Regions from separate parts of the Homo sapiens genome. Here region 2 is linked to region 1. The links are contacts of gene promoters, found by promoter capture Hi-C in human tissues and cell types (Jung and others, 2019). All regions are on one chromosome and are shown on one strand. Each heading gives the region's core, a stretch centred on a gene start or on the middle of the fragment in contact. The rest is flanking DNA. Distances are from core to core; before and after follow the strand shown.

What was found. The method cuts DNA at HindIII sites, captures the fragments that hold promoters and counts their contacts. A contact is called where the count stands out against the background at its distance.
Region 2: a contact is called between a fragment that was not itself captured here and the fragment with the promoter of SLC6A3 in region 1, in 5 of the 25 tissues and cell types used here (H1 embryonic stem cells, lymphoblastoid cells, mesendoderm cells and 2 more).

Annotation. Positions count from the first base shown.
Region 1 is chr5:1,444,053-1,446,752 of GRCh38, forward strand. It overlaps SLC6A3 (solute carrier family 6 member 3), which reads right to left and starts at 1,388. Exons shown (of 15, transcript NM_001044.5): 1 at 1,296-1,388. RefSeq lists an enhancer at 2,026-2,525. The HindIII fragment of the contact is 20,714 bases long and covers 1-2,700 here.
Region 2 is chr5:1,566,599-1,569,397 of GRCh38, forward strand. No RefSeq gene overlaps it. Among named protein-coding and RNA genes, the nearest start is that of LPCAT1, 44 kb to the left of the region's middle. RefSeq lists an enhancer at 1-92. The HindIII fragment of the contact is 6,111 bases long and covers 1-2,799 here.

The DNA of each region.
Region 1 (2,700 bases), core at 138-2,637:
ACTGTAAAGAGAGTTTAGACATAACCATCACAACTGCTTCCTCAAAAAGTGTCTGTACAAGCCACATCCACCTAGGGCAGGTGGCACCACCCCGCGTGAGAGAGCTGGGCGGAGGATGGACAGGGCTTCATCGCGGGAACTAGCTCCTGGGCCAGCAGGGTAACCCGGGAAATCCTGTCCAAACGGCTACATAAACCCCCCTGCAACGCTGAGCAGGAGAGCAGGAGCGTCTACACCGCCCCAGCCAGGGCGACTTCTGTCATTTGGATCCAGCAGCAGCGTGTTTCAGTCGAGCGCACGCACACACAGACACACAGACACACACAGACTCACAAACACACATACACACTCACACACACACAGGCGAGCACATACACTTACACACATACACACTCACACTCACACAGGTGCGCACACACACACAACGACTGAAGCAGGTCGCAGGTGGAGGCTCTAACAGGCAACTTTCCCTGCATCCAAGTTTGCACAAAACCTCACCCATGAGCTATCACGAGCTATGCCACGCACCCGGTGACAACCTCAACCGGCACGACCCCTCCGGTGGGTAAAACACCCGACGAAGGGGTTCCGCGGCGCGAGCAGGAGGCCGCGTTGGGAGAGGGCGTCGGGTGCGGAGCTCGCGAGTCTCCGGCAAGCCGCCGCCGCCCTGGGGCCACCTGACCCCGCTCCTGAACGCGGGGCCTCAGAGGCGAGTTTTGGGTCTACACAGCAAAATGTGGCCCGTTAGAAAGCGTCCTTCCTCACCGCGCCCAGAACAAGAAGCGGCGCTGCCTGGCGAGTCCTCGCCCGGCCTCCCCGCCCTGCCCAGAGCACCAGCGCGCAGCCCGCGCCCGCCACCACCCCCAACACAGACAAAGCCCCCGCGAGATGGAGCGGCGGTGTACAAAACCCACTCCGATCGGATCTGGGATGCGCCGCACCCCTAGTAGGGTTAAGTTCCACGAGAAGAAACCAGGACCCCCGAGTCACAGCCATAGACACCCACGCGTCCCCTAAGCCGGTGACTGCACCAGGTGCCCACCCGGTTCTGAGCCTGGAGCGGGGCCAGGGGCAGCCCTGCACCCTCCTCGCGCCTCGGACGGCCTCAGGGTCCCATGTGGCGCTATCGGGGGGCGCTCGGCACCCGCGACTGTTGGCGACTTTGGAGACGGCGCGGTCTGCGGGACGCGGGGACCCCAGACTGTGCCCGGTCCCCGGCCCCCGCCCCTGCGCCCCACTTCGGGGTCTGCGGAAGGAGCGGGGCGCCCCGATGCCGCGAGCGACGCTGGCCTCACCTGGCCGCCCGGGCCTGGGCTTTGCACGCGAGTCCTGGCGCCGAGAGCGTTCCGCGAAGCCTCCCCTCCCGCTCCGCAGCGCTGGGCGGTCTCAGCCTCGGCCTCGGGCTCTTATCCAGTAGACAGGGTCCGCCCCGCCCCGCCCTCCCGCCGACGGGGTCGCCCTCGCGTCCTGGCTCCTCCTCCTCACCTCCCCGGGCCGCGCCCCCGCCCCCGCCTCCCGGACGCAGATGGCTGGGAGCAAGCGGCGGCCACGGCTCCACTGTCCTGCGCGTCCCGGAGCCTCGGACACGGGGTGCGGGGGCCTGGGGGTCCGAGACGTCGCGGATCTAGACGGGCGCCTTCCACGCGGGAACTGTCTGGGCCGCCCTGCGCCCTCGCCCGCACCCCTGGGGGCTGCCCCGGGCACCCGCTATCTTCGGACGCCCAGGGCTGGCGGCTCCCAGCTGGACGGGGAGGGAGCCGAGCGGCTGCGCGCGGGGAACTGCTGGGACCCCGTCGGGCCGACCCTTCCCTCCCTCCCCATCAGGGGCCCCTACGGTGGCCCCGCGCTCTGGGGACCACGTCCCTCCCACCCCGCCGCTCCACGCTCTGACCAGCGGGCTCGGGACCCCGCCGAGGACTCTGCACGCTTCCCGGCGTGCGGGCTGCGGAGACGCGGGTCCTTCCGTGGCCTTGGGGTCTCCGCGACCTCGAGGCGACCGAGGTCCCCTAGGCCTAGTCCCCGCCTTGCCGGCATCTAGTGCGCCTGCATCGGAACCGAGGGGCCCGCCTCGCACTCGCCTAAGAAAACCATTTCCCGGGACGGGCCTGGAAAGCCCTGGCGGTTGGTATCCGGCTCCAGGGCCGAATGGACTCCGAGGCTTTCCTTCCGAGATGCCCGGGCGGGATTTCTTCCATTCAGCGCGCGGAGGAATGGAGCCCCCAGGCCGCCAAGGCCCAGGATGTCCAGGTCCTTAGAAGGCACCGAGGTGAGTGGCCGCGCCCAGCTCTGTGCGTCGCCCCTAGGGTCGCCCGAACCCCGGCGTTCCTCCCCGTGTACCCTCGATGCTCCCGTGAGCACCCTGCCCTGGGCGTCCAGGCGAGCCCTGGGGCTCTCCAGCCATTCCAGCCTGCAGCCCGCGCTCAGCAGTGAGGGAGGCAGGGACCCTTGGTGCCTGACTCCGCAGTACCCGCCCGCAGCGCGGTGCCCCACCCCCTGCGCCCGCCCCGCACTCCCCGCACACCACCACTCCCCTCCCCGCCCCCCGCTCCCCCGCTCCCCGGCTCCGGGGCTGGCACCCAGGCAGAAGGCACTCAGGGCTGTGACTTCACGCTGAGTTGGAATCAAGTGGGAGCCTAGTGACCCCCTGGGGCTGCCATGACAAAAAACTCCACAGCCTGGGGGCTCACACAGAAGCCTTCA
Region 2 (2,799 bases), core at 228-2,727, 120 kb after region 1:
CACCTTTCTCTCAGGCTCCCTGTGCAGTGCAGCCTGACTCTGAAGGGGGCTGCAGGCATGGCTTTCCCAGCACCCACAGCCCAGCTCATTTTCCCTGCCTGGGTGATGCAGGGTGTGTGTGGCTCTGTCTTTTTCTGAAGCTTTGGTGCTGGCTGATTCAGCTCATCATAAAAGGCTTGAAACACTGGTTTGGGAGAGTGCCTGTGGACCTCCCCTCGGACTAAAATAGCAACTTGGGGGTTTAGCCCTGTCCCATCAATCCCCAGGCCTACATGTTCTCCTTTCTTCCAGTGGGGGTCTAGGGGATTAGAGATTATTAGTTCTAGTGGGTTACAGTGACCGGCAGCACAGGAGAGATTGGCTTCCCCTTTTTGAAGGTGAACTGGGTCTTTTTTGTCCTTTTTTTAAGTAGCCTAAATAACACATGGCCAATAGGCACAATTTTCACAGATCCTTGACTTATGACAAACATATTTATTTTTTACTGTGTAGCTCTTTTCCTAGTTAAGAGAACTCCATTTTAATTCTAGCTTGTTACCATTAATGGCTGCACAAGCATCAAATTTTAAAGTTACTTGTTTGGGAATTTCTTTTTCTTCTCTTCTAGTTATTATTTTACTTGTATCGCCAAGGAAAGGACCAGTTTTTTATTTTAAAAACGGTGGTCGCAGGGGGCTTGGATGGGTTATAACACCCATCAGATTGGTCATTTCCTGGGCTACGTACCTTGTACTGTGACATTATACAAACAAGTTCCTTTTGATGTTCCTGTACATTTATAATAACTATAGAATGAAGGGGACCAGCCCCTCCACACCTGTGGGTATTTCTCATCAGGCGGGATGAGAGACTGAGAAAAGAAATAAGACACAGAGACAAAGTATAGAGAAAGAAAAGTGGGCCCAGGGGACTGGCGCTCAGCATACAGAGGACCCGCACTGGCACCGGTCTCTGAGTTCCCTCAGTATTTATTGATTACTATTTTCACTATCTCAGCAAGAGGAATGTGGCAGGAGAACAGGGTGACAGTGGGGAGAAGGTCAGCAAGAAAACATGTGAGCAAAGGAATCTGTGTCACAAGTAAGTTCAAGGGAAGGTACTATGTCTAGATGTGCACGTAGGCCAGATTTATGCTTCTCTCCACCCAAACATTTCAGTGGAGTAAAGAGTAACAGCAGCATTGCGGCCAACATGTCTCGCCTCCCACCACAGGGTGGTTTTTCTCCTATCTCAGAATTGAACAAATGTACGATCAGTTTTATACTGAGACATTCCGTTCCCAGGGGAAGGCAGGAGACAGAGGCCTTCCTCTTTTACTAATCCTACTCAGCACAGATCCTTCACGGGTGTCGGGCTGGTGGATGGTCAGGTCTTTCCCATCCCACAAGGCCATATCTCAGTGGGGAGAAACCTTGGATGGTACCCGGCTTTCCTGGGCAGAGGTCCCTGCGGCTTTCCGCAGTGCATTGTGCCCCTGGTTTATCGAGAATGGAGAATGGCGATAACTTTTACCAAGCGTACTGCCTGTAAGCATTTTCTTAACAAGGCACGTCCTGCACAGCCCTAGATCCCTGAAACCTTGATTCCATACAACACAGGTTTCTGTGAGCTCAAGGCTGGGGCTAAAGTTACAGATTAACAGCATCTCAGGGCAAAACAATCGCTCGGGGTACAGATCAAAATGGAGTTTCTTACGTCCTCCTTTTCTACACAGACACAGTACCAGCCTGATCTCTCTTTTCCCCACATTTACAAACGCCACAGTGAAGAACTTTGTTGCAAACACATGCAGGCTGTGAAAAGAACTCTGTGCCTAAAGTCCTTTCATTTCTTTGCTGGAGTTTTTTTGAGGCAGATTCTAGAATTGCTGAGTCAAAGGGCAAATGCCATGTAGTTTTGTTAGACGCTGCCAAATCCTCTTCCATGAGGCTGCAATATTCTGCATTCCACAGTGACGTATGAGAGTCCTTGTATCCCACAGCTTCATAAACAAAGCATGACGGCACATCTGCACGTTTACCAATCACACAGGTGAGAAATCTTATCCTAGTTTCACCTTTGTTTTTGGTTTGCATTTTTGTGACCAGCTTTTTTATGGTATAATGCACAGAAGGTAATGAACACATTCTACCCACAAGCTTCTTCCTGTGCCTTTGGAATCTGCTCCTGCCAGTCTGCAGGCAACCACGGATCTGCTTTCCGTCACGTAGGAGGCATTCTTGACACCCTCTGTACACAGCATGCACTTTTTAAATTTGGCTTCTCTTACACAGCATAGTGACTTTCAGATTTATTCAAGCTGCTGCGTGTGCCAATAGTCCACTCCTTCCTAGTGCTGAGGCCCCCATCACATGAGCACAACTGTTTCCTGTGTGTGATGTGTTGTTCTCTGGCTGTGCACTGCCAAAAAAGACATCATTAAAAAAAATCTAAATATAATGTAAAACCTGCCTTGTCTTAGGAAAAGTTTTTCTGGCAGTGGCTCACACCTATAATCCCAATACTCTGGGAGGCTGAGGCAGGAGGACTGCTTGAGCCCAGGAGTTTGAGACCAGCCTGGGCAAGATGGTGAAACCCTGTCTCTGTAAAAAATATAAAAATTAGCCAGGCATGGTGGCTCACACCTGTAGTCTCAGCTCCTTGGGAGGCTGAGGTGGGAGGATTGCTGGAGCCCGGGAGGTGGAGGTTGCAGTGAGCCGAGATCACAGCACTGCACTCCAGCCTGGCCGGCATGGCAAGACTCTGTCTCTACCAAGACAAAAACAAAAAATTAATAGAAGAAAAGCAAAGATTTTTCTT